Linked DNA regions of Homo sapiens: regions 2 and 3 are each linked to region 1. Evidence: promoter capture Hi-C in 16 types of primary human blood cells and fetal thymus (Javierre and others, 2016). All regions are on one chromosome and are shown on one strand. The core of a region is centred on a gene start or on the middle of the fragment in contact, and the rest is flanking DNA. Distances in the headings are between cores, read along the strand shown.

Region 1 (4,066 bases), core at 1,157-3,656:
ATGACACAAACACCTCCTGTTAGACCCCACTTCCCAACTGCTGCATTGGGGAGTAAGTTTCCAACACATGAATTCTGGGGGACAAATTTAGACCACAGAAGACTCTTTCTCCTTTATTGATTATTTCAGTGTCCTTACATGTGAGTTTTTATGTTCATAGCATTGGATCTCCCAAAATAATTTGGCACCTTTGGATGTGTGCTTTTTGCTCACTGGGGATGTTCTGCTTGTCTCCCTGTGAAGTTGGTACCTTCTTACTGCAGCTGGAGGCAGAGATGAGGAAAGGGGATGTGCCAGGAATGAGTCTTCTGCATACAGGACTTCCTGTTCTTTCCAGATGTGGCCAGGTATGCTGTGTACTTCCCTGCCTCTCTGCCCCACCCTCACTGCTCCCTCCTTAGGCAGGCACCTCTGCTGCCTGTTACTCAACACAGAAAGGTTGGGGCGGGAGACCACATGTCTTTAGAGGCTGCCATTACTATGCCAGCACAACTGACAACCATGAGAGTTAACCTAGGGTCCCTTCTTTTCCTTCAATCCACTGCCTGGAGCCTGCAGCTCCTCAGAGCCTTTCCACTCTGCATAGGTACCCCCTCCTTTATGTGTTTTGGCTGCAATTTCCTCCTTCATCCAGTCTCATATCTCTGACAGGGATCTCAGATTCCAGTTTACCTGGGACACCTCTGGTTAGGACCCAGCAACATTATTAAAGTTTTTCTATCGCTTTCCTGCCACCTCTAGAGGCCTGGGATGGACGTTGAAGGCTTATGCATATGTTCAGTCCACCATCATGACCCAATATTGACCCTTCTGCGTTCCATCTTCTAAAAATGCCTCAAATGTCCCGCCCCCTTGACTCCACTTTTTCTCAGTTTCCAACCCTGTTGATTTCCATTATGCTTTTAATATATCTTTGCTGCTATTTTAATAGAATTTTGAGCATGTGTTCAATCCACTATCTTGAATGGAAAGTTTCTAAAGTGGCCTGTGACTCAGGAAGAAGACTGTGATTAATGGGCGAGAATGAAAATCATTGCTCAATCCCTTGACTTAAATCCCCACCACAACACCTGACCTACAAAACCTGCCCATACTTGAATATTCCAAGTGATGCAGCATTCACTACTCAAAATATTAGCTGGTGTACATATTACAGACCCAGCATCTCTCCCTCTAGTTGACCATGACCTCTGAAATTCACACTCTGATCCTATCTATTTCCTTTCAGTTACCGTGCAGATGTCAGGAAGCACTTGTTAAGACTATTACCTGAAGTGTACTCAGAGGCAGAGTAAATGCTGGGTCCCGGAGCAGACAGGAGAGAGGACCTGGGAGTTTTTTAGTAAGATGGGGAGGAGGAGATAGGCTATGGCTTGGACCAGGCCTGGAAGAGAGCTCAGGTGTGCAGTCTCTAGGAACCCGGGTGGAGAAGCAGCAGGAAATAAGCAGAAAAAGGAGACAGGCCATGAAGATAGAAGCGCAATGGTCCTGGATTCAAATCTCCACTCTGCAGCTTATAGCTTACAGTCCGCTTAGCTTTGTGCCCATTCCAAGAGGATTTCCCTATTGTAGCTTTACAATGTTTTAATATGTAGTATTGTTGTGCAAGGTACCATCCTAAACTGACTGACTTTCCTTCCTCCTTCTCCTCCAAAATAATTTTTAATTCTTGCAGACAGACTTTAGATCGTGTGTTTGAAGTTTTTAAAGATGGAATTTTTATTGGAACTGCATTACACGTATAAATTATTTAGGAAGAGTTGGCTTCTGAAGAGGGCAGCTCTGTGGGCTTGGGCTGGGTTTGAATCCAGCCAGACAACTTTCCAGCTGTGTTACCTTGGACAGTTACCTAGTTCCTCTGTACCTTGACTTCCTCATCTGTCAAATGGGTGATGATAATAGCACCTACACCATGGTCGTTGGGAGGAGTCAGTGAGAGTCTCCAAGTGTGCTTTATTATCGTTGGTGGTGGTAGTGGTGTTTAGAACGCATCCCTCAGTCAGACAGCGAGGTAGGACTTCTCCGTTTATTAAATCCTGACCTTTTTTTTCCATGTAAAACCTGCACGTTTCTGAAATGCTCAGAGTACGTTACTCAGTATGTACCCATATGTTCTGTGGGTATACTTTGTTAGGTTGTGATTAGTTCGTTGGAGCTGGTGGTTGCAGGGACGGCTGGAAGCAAGGAGATGAAGGAGAGGAAGTCGTAGCTGGGAAGGGGACCAGGAAGTGGGTGTCAGGTCCAAGAGCTGCTAGAAAGAAACGAAACTGAAAGCAGGGAATTTCCCAAGTTTGGGGAAGACAGGAACTGCAGCGCCCCTCCCCGTTTCACGCCACGCGCGGGACCGAGGACCTAGGACCTGGCCAGCTGGGCGTGGTTCGGAGAGCCGGGCGGGAAAACGAAACCAGAAATCCGAAGGCCGCGCCAGAGCCCTGCTTCCCCTTGCACCTGCGCCGGGCGGCCATGGACTTGTACAGCACCCCGGCCGCTGCGCTGGACAGGTTCGTGGCCAGAAGGCTGCAGCCGCGGAAGGAGTTCGTAGAGAAGGCGCGGCGCGCTCTGGGCGCCCTGGCCGCTGCCCTGAGGGAGCGCGGGGGCCGCCTCGGTGCTGCTGCCCCGCGGGTGCTGAAAACTGTCAAGGTGAGGTCCCACCTCGGGGTCTTTATGTGTCCAAAGGGGAGTCCTGGGAGGACGCTTAAGCCTCACATAGGCTTACGGTGGGGGTGGCTTTATCCGCTTGTGCACCTCATTCATTTCTTTAACAAATACTTCCAATGTGCCAGCCCCGTGCTAACTCCCCCGAACATACGAGCCAGGTAGGTACTCTTAAGCCCGCTTGACAGATAGAGAAAATGAGGCACAGAGAGGTACAGTGACGTGTCCGATCCTGTAAGAGGCCCAGCCAGGATTCAAATCCAAGTAGCCTGATTCCTGCATCTCTACTCTCAGAGGCTGCTTCTTATCCATTCATTCACTCATTCACTCATTCTCCCAGTCATTCAAACAGACTGTGGGCCTCACACTATGCCAGACCTTAAGGTTACAGAAGTAATAACACTCCGCGTAACAGCCAGAGTAGCCCAATTTATTGAGACATTATCAAATAACAATGAAAATTATCTCATTAAATGAGTATTACCTCATTTCATCCCCACGTTCAGTGAGGCAGGTATTATTGTACCTGTTTTATGGATAGGGAAACTGAGGCTAGACGCTAAATTACTACTCTGAGTCACATCTTTTTTTTTTTTTTTTTTTTTTTTTTTTTTTGAGACAGGGTCTCGCTCTGTCACCCAGGCTGGAGTGCAGTAGCATGATCTTGGCTCACAGCAACCTCCGCCTCCTGGGCTCAAGTTATTCTCACACCTCAGCCTCCCAAGTAGCTGGCACTACAGGTGCACACTACCATGCCTGGCTAATTATTTGCATTTTTTGTAGAGATAGAGTTTTGCCGTGTTGCCCAGGCTGGCCTGGAACTCCTGGGCTCAAGTGATCCACTTGCCTTGGCCTTTCAAAGTGCTGGGATTACAGGTGTGAGCCACCATGCCCAGGTAATTTTTGCATTTTTTGTAGAGACGGGATTTCACCATGTTGCCCAGGCTCCGGGTCACTTTTTGTCACTTAAATACAGCCACACTGCCACTGTGATCCCAGGACACTCGCAGATTCAGGGAGGAGACAAGTCATGAGCTACCTTATCCTCAGGGTAGATTTGGGGGTGCCAGGAGTGGATTGATGGAGGGAACCTGGGTGTGCTAGAGGAGGTTGTCAGGAGAGGGAGTGAAAACGCAGAGTAGAAATGGCCTCAGAGCACCTAGTGGTTTCCTGGGGCTGACTCTCAGCTTGGGAGGTGGGGAAGGAGGAGACACTTGTCGCCTAGGAGGTGTGAAGTCCCGTTTCTACCTTGGAGATGGACAGGAGGGATTTCTGTGCAGCAAGGGAAAGCCCTGGCATCCTTAGCTTCCCTGGAAAGGGGTGGGAGGGGGTTCTGGAGCACAATCTCCCTGTGCTTTCATTGTCTCCTTTGTAAAGTGAGCACGGTGCAATCTCCCTGTGCTTTCGTTTC
Region 2 (4,066 bases), core at 446-2,945, 230 kb after region 1:
CATAGTTGGAGGCCCACAGATGGAGGCCATGGTGATTGCTATTGTCTGTCCCATGCATTCCCATTCTAGGATGTATACAGAAATGTCCTGTGGGCGGCTGGGCACAGTGGCTCACGCCTGTAATTCCAGCACTTTGGGAGGCCGAGGCGGGCAGATCACCTGAGATCAGAAGTTCAAGACCAGCGTGGCCAACATGGTGAAACCCTGTCTCTACTAAAAATACAAAATTAGCTGGGCGTGGTTGTGTGTGCCTGCAGTCCCAGCTACTCGGGAGGCTGAGGCAGGAGAATCGCTTGAACCCAGGATGCGGAGGTTGTGGTGAGCCAAGATTGCACCACTGCACTCCAGCCTGGGCAACAAGAGCGAAACTCTGTCTCAATAAATAAATTAAAAATGTCCTGTGGGCTTGGTCTGAATGAGCCTCAGCCTCTCTTTCCCTCCGCTGCGCTCCCCTGAAAACTCATCAAGTATAGGGTCACACACTAGATGCCTGCAGGGGCTGGGCAGGCCACACTGACAGGAAGGGGAGGCAGGCAGGGGCTGCAGGGGACCAGGAAGCCTGTCTAATGGGGGTGCCACAGCTTAGCACCCAGATCCAACTGTTTCCCAGTAGATACCAGAAATCTGGATTGTTGTGGGAAATCCTGAGTTTAAAATAGAGGGATTAGCCAGGCATAGTGGCTTGCTTGAGCCCAGGAGTTGGAAGTTGCAGCGAGCCATGATCGCACCACTGCACTCCAGCCTGAGCAAGAGTAAGACCCCGTCTCGTTAAAAAATAGAAGGAATCAGCCGGGCGCAGTGACTCACACCTGTAATCCCAGCACTTTGGGAGGTGGGCGAATCACTTGAGGTCAGGAGTTCGAGATCAGCCTGGCCAACATGGTGAAACCTTGTCTCTACTAAAAATACAATAAAAAATTTGCCAGGCGTGGTGGCGGGCATCTATAGTCCCAGCTACTCGGGAGGCTGAGGCAAGAGAATGGCTTGAACCTGGGAGGCAGAGGTTGCTGTGAGCCAAGATCACACCACTGCACCCCAGCCTGGGCAACAGAGCGAGGCTCTGTCTCAAAAAATAAACAAAACAAATAAAATACAATAAAATAAATAAAAGGAATCATCTTCTGCTGGGGTCAAACCCAGCCCTACCTCCTCCCACAGCCAAAACAGGGCCCATGAACTCCACGGGGACCCCTATCCCCACCCAGCCTCCACTCACCTGAGGGCTCCTTGAGGGGTCGGGCGAGGGTGAGGGAGCGGCCCAGGAACAGGTGCAGATCCAGCAGGTAGGGGATTTCATCAGGGGCCACCAAGGAGTAGGCTGTGCCACTTCGGCCAGCCCGAGCCACACGGCCTGCAGCAAGGAGACGTTCAAGCTTAATTAAGCAAAGAAGGACCCGGACCCAGCATGAGTTCCACAGGCCAGACCCTGAGCAGGTGAGCCTGGCCAAGCCTCGAACCTCACACGGCTGCTGTCCCCACCTACGCACAGGGAAGTTTAATCCCGGTCCCTAGGTTGATCTGTGAGAGTGTGCCCAAGCTGACACAGTGCTCTGGGAGACTAGCAAAAATACAGCAAGGCCCTGCTCATGAGCATGATCAAAACTCTTCAGTGTCCCCACTTTTGAGAATTCCCCGCAAAGATGTAAAGATTCACACACAAGGAGGTTTAGTGTGGCCCTGACTAGGACAGCCCCAAGTTGGAAACTAAAGTCTCAAGGGTAGAGGACTAGATAAGTGAATTAGCTGATGGCCACACAGTGGGAATTAAACAGCTCAGGAAAAGAGTGGGCAAACTGCAGCCTACAGGGCCAGGCTGGTGGCTCACGCCTGTAATCACAGCACTTTGAGGGGCTGAGGTGGGAGAATCACTTGAGGCCAGGAGTTCGAGAACAGCCTGGGCAAAATAGCAAGACCCCATGTCTACAAAAAACGAAAATTAGCCAGATGTGATGGTGTGTGCCTGTAGCCCTAAGTACTTGGGAGGCTGAGCTGGGAGGATTGCTTGAATCTGGGAGTTCAAGCTTACAGTGAGCTATGATCATGCCACAGCACTAGAGCCCAAGCAACAGAGTGAGATCCCGGCCCCCTGCTTGTCTGTGTAAATAAAGATTTATTGGAACACAGCCACACTCATTTGTTTATATATTATCTATATAAATGAATAGGCAGCAGTCACACGACAGCAGCAGAGATGAACAGTTATGACAGAGACAGTATGGTCCACAAAGCCTAACGTTTCATGTCTAGCCCCTTACAGAAAAGATGTGCCAACCCATCACAGAATGACATTTCATAGTAAACGAAAAACATTCGTGATGTATGGTGATGTAAAAAGAAAAAAACAAAAAGCCAGTTATAAAAAAGAACACCCAATATGATTGCAATTTTGCATGAAGTACCTAAATCACTACATAGCATTATATTTTGGTTTGTCTCTGTATCTTGGGAAAACAAGGTGTTATGACATTTGGAGATTTCATTTGAGGTTGTCTGACCGGCACTGTTGGTCTTGTGAGGCACAAGAAATTCCCTTTGGGGGCGTCCTGGGGACCTCCCTAGGGACATGCAGAACCAGCTCTCCACACAGCAACAGAAACTAGGGGACAGCAGACAGCAACAAGGGGGAAGTGCACCCACCACATGACACTTATGAATTAAAAGAAGGCAAAGAAAGTAGAATAACAGTTACCAGGGGCTGCGGGAGGGGAATAAGGAGATTTTGTCTGACGGATAGAGCTTCAATTTTGCAAGATGGAAAAGTTCTGGGGCCAAGCATGGTGGCTCACGCCTGTAATCACAGCACTTTGGGAGGCTGAGGCAGATGCATCACTTGAGGTTAGGAGTTCAAGACCACCTTGGCCAACATGGTGAAACCCCTGTCTCTACTAAAAACACAAAAAATTAGCTGGGCCTGGTGGCGAGCACCTGTAATCCCAGCTACTCGGGAGGCTGATGCAAGAGAATAGCTAGAACCTGGGAGGTGAAGGTTGCAGTGAGCCGAGATCACACCCCTGCACTCCAGCCTGGGGTACAAAGCAAGACTCTCAAAAAAAAAAAAAAAAGTTTTGGGGACAGATGGTGGTGACAGTTGCACAATGGGAACAGACTCAATGCCACTCCACTGCACACTGGGAAATGGCAAAATGCTGAATTGCATGCTATGTCTACTTTACCACAACTTAAAATAGAAACATCAGAAGAATGGACACACACCAAAATGACGGCCATGTCATCAGAGAGCAATGGGGGACAGTGATCTCTGAAATGAGACCACAGCTGTTCCGTGACTTACGAAGGGCTGCGTCTCAATAAACCCAATAGCCGTCAAAAACACACGCACGGCACCTAACCCACTAAACATCGCAGCTCAGCCAGCCTGCCTTGAGCATGCTCCAAATACTTCCATTAGCCTACCCTTGGGCAAAATCATCCCACACATAGCCGATTTTAAAATAAAGTGTTGAGTATCTCATGTAACTTATTGAATACTGTACTGAAAGAAAAAAATAGAACAGCTGTATGGGTGCTATTGTAAAGTCAAAAAAACCATAAGCTGAATAATTGGGTTGTTTTTTTTTTTTGGTTTTTTTGAGACAAGATCTTGCTCCGTCACCCAGGCTGGATCGCAGTGGCACGATCGCGAGTTTGAGACCAGCTTAAGCAATATAGCGAGGCTCTGTCTCTAAAACAAGGCCCACAGCCACCCCATGTGCAGTGTCAAGAGTTAAGCCTTGTACCCTCGGCTTCTGCCAGGATCCGGCACCCCTGCCTGCCCCAGGGCCAGCCACGGGCTGCTTACCCACGCGGTGCAGGAAGAGTTTGCCCTTGGCGGGGAAGCTGTAGTTGATGACATTGTCCAGCAGCGGGATGTCCAGGCCTCGGGCGGCCAGGTCAGTCACAATGAGAGTGGAGCACTTGCCAAGCGTGAATTTGGCGAGATTGATCTTGCGGGCTGTCGGGTCTAGGGCACTGTAGATGTGGGCGCAGCTCACCCGCTGGGTCGTCAGCAGCTGCTCAGAGCAAAGATGGTAGCAAAGTGAGAAGGAGACTTGGAGGAGAAAGGAAA
Region 3 (4,066 bases), core at 447-2,946, 200 kb after region 1:
ATCCAGCCTGGCCTCAATGCCCTAACAGTGTAGGCCGTCTCATTCCCAGGGCCTCTGAGGGGACATCTTAGAAAGAGTCTGGTGGGGGGGCTTGTCCAGCCACTGAACTGTCAGAGCACACACTCTGCTTCTCATTCAGGGTGTGTATATTTGGAGTAGCCAATGAGGATGAAGGGTGGCAAAAATTGCTCTCAACAGCTGCCCCCTTGACGCAGCTGCAGTGTTTTGGGGGTTGGGAATGTCATAAAATCAGGCAGGAAAGTCCTCTCTGGGAGCCCACACCTTGGGGAATCAGCACAGAGCTAAGACTGAATCTTGACACAGGTGAAGGCTCCCAATCCATGCTCCTGCTCACCTGGGCCACAGGGGAACTCCTAACAGGTCCTCCACCCTCCCAGCTGGATGGGAGACCCCAGGCAACCAGATGGGGACTCCGGTCCAGAGCTCTCATTGCCCAAATGGGAAACCAAGGCCCAGAGAGAAGCAGGTTCAAGGTCACACAACAAATGTCCTCCAGAGGATCCCACACCTGTCGCAGGTGCTAAGGCCCTCAGAGCCCCTTCTGGGCACTATGCCAAGCAGGAGGGGGAACCCGCCCCCCATATTCTGCTGATTCAGCAGCTGCTGACTCAGCCCTGGGGGAAGCATAGCTTGGGACTAGTAGTGAAGGGAGCCGTAGGGTCCCCCAGTCCCATTGCACCTGGCTGGGGAGGGGGTCGCAGCAAGGAATTGGCTCTTCAAGCAGCTCAGCACCCGGGGAAGGCCCACACGAGGCTGGGAGCCACAAGACTGGGGAGCTCAGGGCTTGGGGTCAAAAGGACCCTGGAGGGCCACCTGGTGACACTCTGCAAACCTAAGCACCAGATCCACACAGGATGTTAGGGCTCATCTGATCCCAGGCCCTCTCCAAGGGTCCTCCCCAGGGTTCCCTTGCTAGGCCCCCACCCACGCCTGGAGGAGCCACCTCCAACATCTGCCTGGACTAAGGAAGAGACCCCCCGCTTTCTCCCCTCCCAGATCTGACAGAATATGGCCCTCTAATCCCCTCTTCAGCTCTGGACGACCCCCTTTAGTACATCCCGGGAACAAAGACACCCCCTCCCCTGCCCGGGGGTGAGGCGGGGCATCTGCTAACTCTAGGCGCCCCCCTCCCACCGGGACAGCCATGGGCATGCGGCCTCTCGCCCCTTTAAAGCGGAACTGCCCCAAGACCAGTCTTGGACAAGAACCCCTCGCCCTCCTGCCAACCCGCCCTGGCACGCGGAAAGGGCGACGTCGGCCCCACCCCAGGCCTTGCGCGCCCCTCACCCAGAAGCGCCCGAGGAGTACTCACACGTCCTTGGCAGGCAGCGCGCGGCCCTCCACCACGCGAACATTCAGGGAGCTGCTCTTGGCCATGGCGCCTAGCCACAAACTTTCCAGGCAGAAGGGCGCTCAGGTTCCGAGGCTGGACCAGGGGACGTCTACATGTCACCTGCTTCAAGCCTGGCTCCCTGCCTCGTGGTCCCAGTGCCGCCTGTCCGAGACCCGGGTAGCTGGATGGGAGATTTCCGAAAGAGGAGAAGGTGTAGGTGCCCGGGGAGGGAGCGCCCGTCCGGACTCTACAGGTAGGAGCCGTGCTCCGAGCAGGAGGAGCGCGCAGGGGGCGCAGCGGGCTCTTGCCGAGGCGTCTGGAGCTCCAGACAAGCAGGCTGGGCGGGCAGGGGGCGGGAGGGGCGGCCCAGGGACCTCCCCACAATCCCGCCTCCAATGGGGTCCCCCACCTGACCCCGGGCCCCCTCGCGCGCCCTCTACCGGCACCCCAGTCATGCGCGCCAGAGCGCACGGGCGGCGGAGACAAGGGTGCACCGCCAGGTGGGGAGGGGCCCCCGTCCTGATGGGCGTGGCCGCTGGCTCCTGGTGAGTTGGCATTGGGCTTAAAAGACATGGTCTGTGCCCCCGCCTGTCCCTCATCCAACATATTCACACCTCTCCGCCCCCACCCCTCCTTGCCTACCATGCAGACACCTGCCTCCTCTCTCCAACCTCCGCGCCCCCCGGTCCAGGAGCAAGTATTAGTGGTGGGTGGGAGGCGTCGCCAGAGAGAGGGTCGCATGTTCCCTGGGGGTCCGTTCAGAGTCAAGGGAGGGGCCTTGAACATCCCCTTCCATCTCGTTCTAGTTTCCAGTTAAACACAGAACCCAGACTCTGCTCTAACGTCACGGGCTGGCACTGCGGGGGAGGAAGCCGCGGCCAGATGGGGGAGGGGAAGGCTTGAAGATAACCACTACAGCGATGATAAAAAGTCATCTACAGTTGTTTGAACACTTCATGGGTGCCAGGCACTGTTCTAAGCGCTTTACTGGGATTAGCTCATTTTTGTCTCCAGATGTGCACTACACACTACTCCACTGTTACCCCATTATCCGCAGTTTATGGATAAAGAAACTGAGGTTCAGAGGGATTAAATAACTTGGCAGAGGTCTCACAGTCAGTAACTGATTTGCCTTCCAGGGGTTCGAATCCTGGCTCTGCCATTTGGTAGCTGTCTGGACTTGGGTAAGCCATTCAACCTCTCTGTGCTTTGGTTTGGTTTTCTCATCTGTTGAGTGAGGATGACATTGCATTTCAGTCACAGGATTTTGAAAGAATTAAAAGAGTTAATGAAGATAAAAGTCTCAGGACAGTGACAAGTACCTAATACACGTCCAGAAAGTGTTTGATATTCTGATTGTTGTCCTTTGAGGCGTGGGCCACGCGTCACCTCTCCTGGGAAGGCTTCCAGGATGCCCTTCCACTCCGGTAGAGATTTTCTTTCCTTTCTCTCTGCTCCAGTGGCTCCAGGTTTGTACATTTTTCTGATTTTAAATGAGATAATATGACAGGCAGGGCCTGTCCCAGAACAGATCCGTTCGCACACTTATTTCTCCCTGTGAATTCATTGTTGACCTGCCCAAGACCTCTTAGAAAGGCCAGGCACCAATGGGAGTGCCCCTGCAGACTGAGTGCGGGAGCCAACGCCCAGACCGGTGAGACCAGGAGTGCCCTTCCTGGATCCGTCAGCAGCCCAATGGTCTGCTTCCCAGTCTCCCTTCTTGACTCCCCACCCAGCAACCCAGACAGGCTGATGAGGAACTCAGAGCCCTGGAATTCCTTCCCCAGCTGGTGGCTGCCTGGTGAGTCTCTGACCCACCAGAGATGGGGTCTCAGTTAATCCCATCTGGGAAATGGACCTAGCAGAACAGGCTCCAAGGCTTAGAAGTATTGCAACATCCTCAGCGGGGCATGAGGGGTAATCCAGGGTTAGATCCAGAACAGTAATAGCCCCAAAGGAGTCATCCCACTGTGATTTTTTTTTTTTTTTTTGCCCAGCTGGAGGGCAGGGCTCGATCTTGGCTCACTGCAACTTCCACTCCTGGGTTCAAGTGATTCTCCTGCTTCAGCCTCCTGAGTAGCTGGGACTACAGGCACCCACTACTATGCCCGGTTAATTTTTGTATTTTTAGTAGATTTTTATAGTTTGTATTTTTATATCACCATGTTGGCCAGGCTGGTCTTGAACTCCTGATCTCAAGCAATCCACCCACCTCAGCCTCCCAAAGTGCTGGGATTATAGGCGTGAGCCACCATGCCTGGCCCACTGTGATCTTTATCAGTTACCCCAGATTCTCTCCAAAGAAAATATACCACCTAAGGTGGTGGGGGGAATGGTACTTAAGGTATTTGCTATGTAACTGAAGCTTTAAGACGGGAATCCTGCCCCCCGCCCCACACCGCCCCCCACCACACACATTTAGTGGAAGCTACTGTTTGAGCCTTTTTCTTCTGTGAGCCTGCAAAGACCGCAGACAGGCCTCCAGACCCCCAGGACCCCTTTTGGAACCCCCTGATGATGGAACCTAAGGGGCCTGTTCCTCCAGCCCCCATGGGATGCCAGCCAAACTGCCACGCAGCCATCTTGGCCCATCTTCCAGAGCTAAGCAGGAAGTCATATACCCAAACACCCTTCCCCAGCTCCCCACGGGGAAATACCAAGGATATAGACTGTGCCAGCTGGGCCTCCAGCAAGCCAGCGCTGTTACCTGTC

The links. Contacts are between HindIII fragments. The CHiCAGO score rates a contact against its expected background, and 5 or more counts as called.
Region 2: a fragment that was not itself captured here is called in contact with the fragment with the promoter of OAS3 in region 1 in 2 of 17 cell types (M0 macrophages and M1 macrophages); the score reaches 5.2 in M0 macrophages.
Region 3: a contact is called between the fragment with the promoter of RASAL1 here and the fragment with the promoter of OAS3 in region 1, in 12 of 17 cell types (total B cells, naive CD8 T cells, activated CD4 T cells and 9 more). The highest score is 14.2, in total B cells.

Annotation. Positions count from the first base shown.
Region 1 is chr12:112,936,068-112,940,133 of GRCh38, forward strand. It overlaps OAS3 (2'-5'-oligoadenylate synthetase 3), which reads left to right and starts at 2,407. Exons shown (of 16, transcript NM_006187.4): 1 at 2,407-2,640. The coding sequence starts at 2,464. RefSeq lists enhancers at 60-229, 2,026-2,195, 2,090-2,399, 2,363-2,532, 2,956-3,125 and a silencer at 2,620-2,709. The HindIII fragment of the contact is 11,275 bases long and covers 1-4,066 here.
Region 2 is chr12:113,168,554-113,172,619 of GRCh38, forward strand. DDX54 (DEAD-box helicase 54) reads right to left here. Exons shown (of 20, transcript NM_024072.4): 11 at 3,800-4,010; 12 at 1,217-1,351. Among named protein-coding and RNA genes, the nearest start is that of MIR7106, 11 kb to the left of the region's middle. The HindIII fragment of the contact is 648 bases long and covers 1,372-2,019 here.
Region 3 is chr12:113,134,065-113,138,130 of GRCh38, forward strand. RASAL1 (RAS protein activator like 1) reads right to left here and starts at 1,697. Exons shown (of 21, transcript NM_001301202.2): 1 at 1,334-1,697. The coding sequence starts at 1,398. RefSeq lists a silencer at 1,684-1,823. The HindIII fragment of the contact is 4,772 bases long and covers 1-3,717 here.